Linked DNA regions of Homo sapiens: region 1 is linked to region 2. Evidence: promoter capture Hi-C in human tissues and cell types (Jung and others, 2019). All regions are on one chromosome and are shown on one strand. Each heading gives the region's core, a stretch centred on a gene start or on the middle of the fragment in contact. The rest is flanking DNA. Distances are from core to core; before and after follow the strand shown. Region 1 holds the start of LOC124902121 (a long non-coding RNA gene). Region 2 holds the start of CER1 (cerberus 1, DAN family BMP antagonist).

Region 1 (5,214 bases), core at 2,069-4,568, 240 kb after region 2:
TGGTGGTCATTTGGGGTGGGGGGGTGGGGCATCGTCTCAGTATTCCAACATTCCAACCCTTAGTTAGAAGATGAGGGTAAGAGTCACTGAAGGTAAATAACTTTCAAGGGCTTCAGAGGTCATTTAGTCCGGCCAATAACTGGGAGAGGACCAAAGGTAAAAATGGTGCCAATGCAGGGAATGGAGTGAGGGGAGAGACTGTGTCAGAACTGGGGAAAGAGAGGAAAGAACCTGCATAGCACCTGGTGTTGGGGACCAAAAAGCATGATTTCTACCTTGGGTGAGTCTCTTTGACAGATCACAAGGCCTTACAGGTCTCAGGTTCCTTCCTGCCCAGTTCTAACATTCTATATGTTAGCAGGTTTAACTTTCCAGGTAGTAATATCCGGAGAGAACTAGTGAATGGAACCAGGAGTGGCCATGGAGATGGGGAAACACTTAGTTTGCAGGTGGTCAGGCAAATTTTGGGACCTTGGGAAATCAGTCGACGGAGGAGAAGTTCTAAAGGGATGAGAGAAATCCAAAGTCAATAGGACTAAAGAGAAAGGCCGAAAGCTTATTTTCTTAATGATCATTTCAATTTTCATCGAGAGAGTGTGAGTCACCCTTGTCTTGTTTTGGGTTCCTCTTGAAGGAGACTCAGAGACAAAGATTTTAATGCAAGAGGTTTTTTTGGGAGATAATCCCAGGAAACAGCAGGAGGGAAATGGGGAAGTGAGACAGGGAAGGGAAGGAGGCCAACAAAGGAAGCCTTATTAAACCAGTTGCTGCTCTAGGCACATGGAGCTCAAGAACTCTGGAGGACAGAGCAAAACACACCTTGAGTTACCCCAACCATGAAGCTGGGATGCTAAGCTACATATATATATATATATATATATATATATATATATACACACACACACACACACACTCAGTTTTTGACTCTTTGTCCATCAAATTAGTTATCCATGAACCCAGCCATTGGATGAGAGCAACTTCTGGGGGAGTTTACAGCCTAGCGCTTCCTACTTGCTTTGCACACTGGTCTGTCATGCTCCCCAGTCTGGCAAAATCCTCAGGCAGTGAGTCATGGGGTTCACAGTAAATGTCCAAGGTGTTATAGGTAAGGCACCAACTGTGTCTGCTACTGTTTTTATTTTTTAGAACTTAATTTTAAAGCCTGGATCTGAAATTTTTCAACTTCTTTTGTTATGAAGTGATTTCCAGCAGGAGTGATGCAAAAGCTGAAAGGCTTCATACTACAGGAAGAGGATATGGTTAAAGGCACCAGGATGTCTACAAAACAGATTTATTTCCATCTCAGCAGGAGGCAGCCATGTTTCTCTAAGTGTTGATTAAACTGTTCCTCCATGGTGGCTCCCTTGTTTGTCTCATTCATGTTGTTCTCATTTACCTCCTTTTGCTTTGGGAATTTGCCAGCGTGGAACTTGTTTCAACGGCTACATTGATTAGGTACAAGCTTATGTTAAGCTGGAAGCCAATAAACGTTTGGCTAGAGAACTTGTGGGGCTCATTAACCCAAGACAAGGTTTTGGGATGAAAATACAAATAGACCCAGGAAGGCTATGATGAGTGTATAAACACTAGACACATAATGGACTGTCCTTCTCAGTCAGGGGCACTTCACTTAACTTTTGAGATTAGCATCAAGGAAATCTCTCAAGTTCTTTCACATAGAGTCTCTTGAGGGGAGTCTGAATATGTGGGTCTGATGTCATTGGCAAATCTTATGCTTGCTTTGAGCTTTTGACTGGGTCAAGAAGCAGCATGGTACAGCTAAAAAGCTCAGGCCTAGGAGTCAAGAAGTGTTAGATTCAAATTCTGGGCAAGGTAATTGCCCTATGACCTGGTCAAGGTACTGAAACTCTCATTTTCCCAAAAAATCTGGGCAATAATTTCTACATCTCAAATTATGGGGAGATGAAATAAAGACCCCATATCTGAAAAATTGAAGAGGGCCTGACTTATAAAATATGCTCCAAGGAAGTTAGTTCCCTCCCTACACCTTTGATTATCTCTGCAATTAAAAAAAACAAAAAACAAAACAAAACAAAAAAAAACCTTTCTGTCTCTTTCCCTTCCTCCCTCCCTCCCTGCCTCCTTCTCCTTCTTCCTTCCTTCCTGTCTTCTTTCTTTTTTTCCAACCAGGGATTTTCAGTATATTCACAAGGTTGTGCAACCCATCACTGCTATCTAATTTCAGATCTCTTTTTCTTTTGATTTGTTGGAAATGGGTTTTGTTGGTTTGTTTGTTTCCCGTAGTGTTTACAAAGAGCTGTAAGAGAACCTTCTTTATTAACAAAGCCTTACATTTGAAACCCAATTTGTGCTACAGACTGCCTTAATATGTGTGAATGCACATGATCTTTACTTGGAAGGTATGCGAAGCCTTTGTAATACCCAATTTACAAATGAAGAAAGTGAGACATGACAGTTGACCTAAGGACAAAACATGAGTGAGGGGCAGTATCTGAGCCAGATCTCAGATCTCCTGTTTCCATTCCCCAAATAGTACTCAGTGGTAACATCTTTACCCTAGAAACTTTGCCAACATGTGCAAGGAACTGTCCTGTGTATGAGGTAGGCTGTAGCTTCTAGCATTAAGCCTCAGGGCTGGGGACATGGACAGATTGTCAGAAGCAATGTGGCCAAAAGCTCCACCATACCCAAGCCTGTAGATTGAAGGATGGCCCTCTGTGAAACCCACAGCTGTTTCTCCGAAGAAGTTTCATTTGGAAGTCTGCTAGTATGGGTTTCAGTACCATGAGGGTGTTTCCCATATAAAGAAGAAGATGATGTCACTGCTACTTGCTGGTATCTACATGCACTCCCAGAGCCCCCTGCAATCCCCCACAAGGGTGCTTTTCTGTGCCTTTCCTCAGTGATTGTCTGTAAGATTAGCTTCCTACTAAAATTCTAACTAGACTTAGATTCTCTTTTATTCACTGGGTGAGGGACCTGGGATCTCTATTTAGTTTTATTTCCAATATTTTTTCCCTGTCATGTAGATTTGCAGTGGGTTTAGGTGGCAGTGTTTACAAATAATTTCTTGGTCTAATCCCAACTATTTAACATCTGCAAGGATGATGTAATATGCCAGCAACTGTTTAAAGTTGTTCTAAAAGGCTTTACAAATATCCTTTGTGAGTGTGCACCCTGGTGATGGGAATGAATACACATGCTATTTTGTGAGCAATTTGAGAGAGTCTATCAAAATTTTAAATATGCTTATGTCTTGACCATAATTCCACTTCTAGGGCTTTTCCTGCAGCAATCACTCATAGCAATGTGAAAATATGCATGTGCAAGGATATTCATTACATCATTATAAGAGTGAAAAATTGTAGAGAAATGCTAAATATATACTGATAGAGGGGATTCCTAAATATAATACACTATGGAGTAATACTCAGCCATTAAAAAGAGTAAGGTTGATTTAAGTTCCCTGAAATGTTATTCATGATATGCTGATGAGAGATTGAAAAAGCAAATTGCGTAATAATATGTATTATATTGTCCCATTTTGTAAAATATAACAATACCCAAGTGATTTCTATATAAATGTAATAAATTTTTCCCATTTTTATACAAGATCTCTTTAGGGTAGACTCTGTTAAATGGTGTTCTACTCAGTACTTTAATATGTTTGGAGATGCAGCTATTGCAGAAGGAAGTAAAGAAGTCTAACCTGTTCTGTATGTTTGAAGGAAGGAGATGACAGCAGAAAAGATAAGGAGAGGAGAGAGAGAGAAGGTGAGGGGCTAGCAGCATCTGAGGCAAAAGCAAGTGTAGCTCTCCCTGAAGCAAGATGGAGGAAAAGACTTAAGAAGTGAAGTCGTTAATGAGTGATTTTAAATAGCTTGCTGTGTGCTTCCTAGTAGGAAGTCTGGCCAATAATCCTCAAATCGTCACTAAAGTCACTAATGCTTTGTGTGAATATGTAGGTGTGTGTGCATGCCTAAATCCAGGAAGGGGCCAAGTTGACCATATAAGTCAACAATGCAGAACAGAGACAGCAGCCAGAGAATAGGGAGCCTTTCTTGGCTTTGGAAGCACATCAAATCTTTGAAAATATGTAGAAATCTTGAGGAGAACCTTAGATTTCCTCAGGGCATAGAATGGGGGGTGGGGTGGTTCAAGCTGTTCATCTAGATCTTATGGGTCTGGAAGACATCAGCCAACATCAGGATTACAAATACAGTAGAAGAACTATTTTTTGCCAAAATGCTTGCAATGTGGCTAGATTAACGAATCTAGATATTCTACCTACAAAAGAACCCAATGATAACAACAAAACAAAACCTTAATCCAATCTATACATCTTCTGAATACGTTCTCCACTTTCCATTATATGGATTATGAAGTAAGAATGGGATGTGTAATGTATTTGTATACTTTCATTTCAGTACTTTAAACTTTATTGCTTTTACAACATAGAAATAACTCTGAACCAGCCCAACTCATGCATTACCAGAACAGCCACCAACCTCACTTCGCAATATACCACCAAATGAATCTCCATGGCAACCAACCAGCACATCCCACCATATGCCACATACCATGAGGAATTACTCCTCAATTATTACTCGGCATGATAGTTTAAATGGATAAGCATTTCAAAAAAATCCTTTTAGGCCAATCTCATTATTTGGATGGTTCTGATATTGAGAAATCTGAATAGGTGACATTTTGTTATTTAGATATACATTCACTTATATATACCCAGAAAAAGATTTGGAATACCTACCGTCACTTCAGAGGGGGACTTTTAATTTTCACTTTATATATACTACTTTATTATTTTCTTTTTTTAATCATAGGCATATGTTATTTTGTAATCAAAGAAAGAAAATGCTGTCCCATACTTGGTAAGCAGTCACTTCTCCTAATGCCACACCTTTATGGAATGCTATCCCCTACACACTGCCTCAGGCAGAATGGAATGTCATATGGGGAACTGGTTGCAGCTAGATGCTATTATTTTAAGAAATTTTAAACATCCTCTGCCTTTTCATTGAACTCAAGATGAGCACTTAACAATTACAAGTATTCCTAGAAGCAAAGAAATCATATATATTCTGGTATTTATTTAAAGTACTAAGAGATTCAAATTCTTTATATAATAAGAAGTAGCTTTAGTCTTTATCAGCTCAAACATTATGAGCTATAATCCATGAAACATGCTATTTTTAACAAATATTTATTCTTCCT
Region 2 (5,609 bases), core at 2,098-4,597:
TTTAACTGTCTTCTGAGAGTCTGTAAGAGGGACAGAAAATGTAGCTGTTGCTGTCCTCTCATAGGCACACTGGGGAGGTCTGAAAAGGAGACAAACCACCTCAACGTGTCTTGAGCGGCTGGGTCTCATGGGCCTCTTTTCTTGTCCATTTTATAAAAGTGTCACCAGCATATGAAAACATTTTTTATTTAAGTATCTTCTCGAGGTCTTTAGAGTTCCTGAAGACATCTTAGTGCCTAAGAAACCCAAGTCAAGTTGAAAACAGTCAGATTCTGCTGAAAGCCTGAACTGTAAATGGAAATGAATGGATTCTGGGATTGGCCCCTCTGGTTCTCATGCATGTCTAGGGTTGGCCCAGGAAGTGGACTTAGGAGGCTTGGGCTCACTCACATGAACTCAGGCTCACCCTTCACTGTGGCATTTGGTACTAAGTGCACTAATAATTGGCGATGCTGTCTCCTCATGAAAGCTTCCTACTGGGTCTGGAGACCTCCTGCAGACCTACTTCCATTTCCATTTGGTTCATCCAAATTGGGAGGTAACTAGATGCCTGTATCAACTGAAGACCAACAGAGGCAGCATATTTTTGCTGAAAGCTACAAAATCTTCACTTATTTTCTTAAGAGATTATAATGTATTACATTATACATATATTACATGTTATACATACATAATTATACACACATAATTATACACACACAGTGTATCAATGGCTTTAGAATTGGTGAATGGACACGATAGTGAAAGGTGATAGTCATTGCCTTTAGCTGAAAAAGGCAGAGGTTGGAGATAGGCTTGTTTCATAGTTCTCATCACAGAAGGCTTGGCTTTGCTAGATTTACTTTTCACGGATAGTATTTACTAATGGGAGTAGGGAGAATATTTCAAGATATTTGCACATTTTCTCAAAAGAAGTGACAGAACAGCAAAAGGATATTCTCTGTGAGTGATTTTTAAATGGCACTTATAAGCCCCAAATTAGGATCAGAGGAAGGGAAGTTTAGGACTAAAGGAAAGTGAAAAATGGATAACTGACATCCCTATAGATGATTTTATACAATAAAGTTAGATGATGCATAAGAAATCCCACTAGACTATCTAACCTACTTGAGGGCAGGGACAAAGTTTTACTCATTTTTCAATTATCTACCAGTATCTAATATGATTCTTAACACACAAAGTGAGTCTTCTACACATTGCAGTTCAACAGGAATTATCTCAACTGTATCTCATGTTCAGTAATTCCAGAGCCAAGCAAACTGAGACCCGAGATAGAATTTCTGAGATTGTCTTTAGTTTTGGGAAATAGTAGATACTCTGATTGATAACAATGGAATTTCAGTTACTGAAAAGTAACAGTTAAAAGGATTCAGGAAAGGTATCACAGCTGGCTTCCACACCATATTATACCAGGAGGCCTAGTGACTAGCTCTGGAAAGCGTATAGCATTGGATGGCTGAGGGGAATTAAGAAATTCAAGTAGCAGTCAATTAAAAAAAAAAAGATGTTGACATAGCATGGTGGCTCACGCCTGTAATCCCAGCACTTTGGGAGGCAGAGGCAAGATGGTGGCTCAAGGCTAAGAGTTTCAGAGCAGCTTGGGCAACAGAGTGAGGCTCTGTTTCAACAACAACACAAAATTTTAAATAGCCAGGTGTGGTAGTGTGCCTGTAGTCCCAGCTACTCAGGAGGCTTGCTTGAGCCTAGGAGTTTGAGGTTACAGAGTGCTATGATTGCACCACTGCACTCCAGACTGGGCAACAGAGCAGAACCCTTTTCCTAAAATAAAAAAAAACAATGGCAAATACACATGCTTATTTATTATATATCAACAGCACCTTTCATTAATACTAGCACACGTTCCATAGATATTTGGTACAAGTACAATATATCTCCACTCATGGCATTCTGGTAAAGTGATGGTCCATGTTAAAAATAGCTCATTATCATGGGTAAAGGGACTTACTTAAGGCTTTATTTCATAGAAATCAGGCATGGCTATCAAGAAGAACAGAAATGCCTGGAAAACAGACTCCAGTGGGTCACTTCTTGGAAAGAAAGTTTAATCAGTATTGACAAAAAAGGGGGAACATGTTCCAGGACTATTTGTGTTATTGAAAGCAAGGAATATAGTGATTGAATTAAAAGGGGAGAAATAAAAGCAGATATTGCATTGCTTCCCAGTGGAAATACTGTTTGAATCATGTGGTAGGCTGATCGGACTCTATTCTGGGGTTTCAGTTTTCTGGACGTGTTTCTTTTTCGTATCCTAGGCTGATTCATGATAGTTTTGAATGATAGTTATTTTTCAATTTTTCCTTTGATCCCCGAAGACTCTTATTTGTGTCAATCTTTATTTAGCCTGGCCATCAATTAGTGTAAAACAAGGGGAGATGATGTGGATTCAATAAGGTAAGAAACTGACTAGCCAGCGTCACACACAAAGTTATCAAACCTGGTTCTTAGAATCCACGTTCTCATGTCTGGCTCTTTGTTCAAAGGGAAAAAAAAATCAATAGGATGGCTGGAGGGAGACATTTCCCTATCCTCATTGAAGACTGATGAGCTGTCAGTCTATTACGTGGTATCCTGTTGAGGAACATGTGAACAATTGGAAGAGTTTATCTGATGACTGACCAGTTGTGAAATTTAGCACCCATTAATTGATTCTTAATGTGAGAGGATTAACTTGGGAATTGTGAGTTTCTACGTGTGGAAAGGAAAACATATTCCCTTTACTCAGTTACTGTGCAAAAATCAATAACCCCAATTTGCATGTAAGTAAGAAACAATATGTCCCTTGCTCAAAAAAATTAACATCCTTCTAGCTCTTCCTTTCTTCTCCTTACAACTTTGATATACTTCTTCGTGTGTGTGTGTGTGTGTGTGTGTGTGTGTGTGTGTGTGTGTGTGTGAATAGCCTTCCTAAAGGCCTGGGCTTTTTCTAAATGTATGCCTTTAATTTTTATCCAAAAACTTCTCTTACAGCAACATGTCTTGTCTATTCTATTCCAGCACAAGGCAGATGCACAGCAAATGTGAGCTGACTCTAGTCCTTCTTCTGAAAACAGCCATGGGAAATTTAGGCAAAGAATGTGTTGTCTTTGCTAATACTGCTCTTTAAGCCCCAGACATAGCTAAACTCTTAGCTAATTACCCCCTGGGTCCCAGGCTTTCACTGGGGCCTTTTAAAATACACAAAACCAAAGTGACGGCAGGAGGCCATTAGCACTACATAATTCAAGCAAACAATAAATGTGTTTATTCTGCCTGGCTACTGACCACCTGCCTTCCCATCCCGCCAGGCAGGTATCTATATATACGATTTCCTTTTTCCCAGTCCTGCAGAGAATGAGCCTCTCCTTTGGGCCTCATCATTTACAAAAGAAGCTTGGGCCCCTGACAGCATGCATCTCCTCTTATTTCAGCTGCTGGTACTCCTGCCTCTAGGAAAGACCACACGGCACCAGGATGGCCGCCAGAATCAGAGTTCTCTTTCCCCCGTACTCCTGCCAAGGAATCAAAGAGAGCTTCCCACAGGCAACCATGAGGAAGCTGAGGAGAAGCCAGATCTGTTTGTCGCAGTGCCACACCTTGTAGCCACCAGCCCTGCAGGGGAAGGCCAGAGGCAGAGAGAGAAGATGCTGTCCAGATTTGGCAGGTTCTGGAAGAAGCCTGAGAGAGAAATGCATCCATCCAGGGACTCAGATAGTGAGCCCTTCCCACCTGGGACCCAGTCCCTCATCCAGCCGATAGATGGAATGAAAATGGAGAAATCTCCTCTTCGGGAAGAAGCCAAGAAATTCTGGCACCACTTCATGTTCAGAAAAACTCCGGCTTCTCAGGGGGTCATCTTGCCCATCAAAAGCCATGAAGTACATTGGGAGACCTGCAGGACAGTGCCCTTCAGCCAGGTATGTGTTCTGGGGGGAGAGCAGGTAAGAGTTTGCAGGTGGTAGTGGACAGCTGGGATGGATGGAGAGTAGGGGAAAAGGCTGTCAGGAGCCTGACTCTAGCTTAACTACAGATTTGGTCCTTGGGCATTCATCATAGGATTTGGCAAAGATTAAGTTTCCTTCTGGCCTTTCCATTTTTTCTTGGCATTGTGGAAATGCTGCAAGAATGATATGATGATACTGTCAATATCAGTAATCATTCATTCACACTGAAGACACAGAGCTCTGTTTTATTTATTTATTTTTGCATTGGAGGTGATCTACTCAGAGATATAAGTCAGACTGTACCCTCAGTTAGGAAACTGAGAATTTAGAGTAATCACCAGAACTCCTCTGTAGCTATCTTTCTGCACTCTATTAATATGTGGATGAGCAGGTCAACTCCATTTGTTGATAAAGTGGGGTGCATTGGACTCCTTCCCAAATACTCTCATATCCATTTACGATGGTCTTAATCCCCATAGTCCATACTTAATTACTTTATAGGTTTATGAGGGACTTCTTTAATAGCTTGCTAAAGCTATCCCACAACCTCAAAGTACGTTGAGGTTCTCAGGCAAAAGTTGTCATATCATTTCTAGTATTATGATAGCAAAAAAGTGATTTTCTTTCACTTATTTTCTCATATGAGCTTTTTAAAAAATCAATCTTGATGTGAGATCATATCTCCTCCCCTTAGAAGTACCTTTCTCCTGATTCATGTTGTGTTGGCTGATTTGTAGTTATTATGATCAATTCCATGCTATTAAGACAAAGGGACATCCTACTGTCTACTTCCTCTGGCAATATCTACATTCCAAATGTTAAATTAAAATTGAGAACTTGCATTAGGTCCTTAAACATGAAGATATTGAACCAAAAACATGCAGGGTAGAGTAAAATTTTATAGTCGAGTAATGCTACCCAATTAAGCAAGCAATAGAATAGGGCAATTGACTGTTCAAGGCAGTTAAGTATTCTGCCTGAAAAGGCAAGGATATGTAGCAATGGCAAGTCAATTATCAAATAATAATGACTACTCTGTTGGCCATGTGCAATTAGAAAATTACCCCTAAGAATCAGGCAATCAAATTTCTTTTGAAATTCTTCTTTTGAATTCTATTGCTAATTAAATTAAAACTAAGATGTTTGACTCTTACATATTTTGAAAGGCATATAAAGCTAGGTGCTTGGAGTTATGAGAGGTAAAGGTGATGTAATATACAATGATTTGCAGGCATATGCATTGTAACTCTGCTTGCATACAACTTCATAGACTTGAATGTACTACAGGTCTTGCAGAATAGGATAGAATTAAACCTAGAATGTTCTGATCTATTCTACGATCAATGTAACAAATATGTATTGGGAGCCTACTATGCACAAAGCCCTGTGAGGAATAAAAAAGTAAGGCACATTACTTATGTAAGATAATTACCATTAGAATTTTTCAATCGCTCACATCCAATTAGACAAAATTGCTTAAGGTTTTGCACGAATAATGTAGAGTAAAATATTTTTTATGTTAACTTAGGGATTCCCTAAAGGCTGTTTAATAATTTACTCAATAAAGAAAATTTAATTGAGGTGGTTCTGTGCCCTTATAGATACCATCACTTGCATATTGCAAATTGTATCCAAAATTGGAAAGCTTTGAAATTTTTAAATTATCCT

Evidence for each region. The method cuts DNA at HindIII sites, captures the fragments that hold promoters and counts their contacts. A contact is called where the count stands out against the background at its distance.
Region 1: a fragment that was not itself captured here is called in contact with the fragment with the promoter of CER1 in region 2 in 4 of the 25 tissues and cell types used here (IMR-90 fibroblasts, mesenchymal stem cells, mesendoderm cells and 1 more).

What each region holds. Positions count from the first base shown.
Region 1 is chr9:14,476,878-14,482,091 of GRCh38, reverse strand. LOC124902121 (a long non-coding RNA gene) reads left to right here and starts at 30. Exons shown (of 2, transcript XR_007061420.1): 1 at 30-156; 2 at 1,147-1,358. It also overlaps a transcript of NFIB not described here. The HindIII fragment of the contact is 4,618 bases long and covers 1,010-5,214 here.
Region 2 is chr9:14,720,471-14,726,079 of GRCh38, reverse strand. It overlaps CER1 (cerberus 1, DAN family BMP antagonist), which reads left to right and starts at 3,347. Exons shown (of 2, transcript NM_005454.3): 1 at 3,347-3,914. The coding sequence starts at 3,408. RefSeq lists enhancers at 2,322-3,259, 3,260-4,199. The HindIII fragment of the contact is 6,126 bases long and covers 1-4,488 here.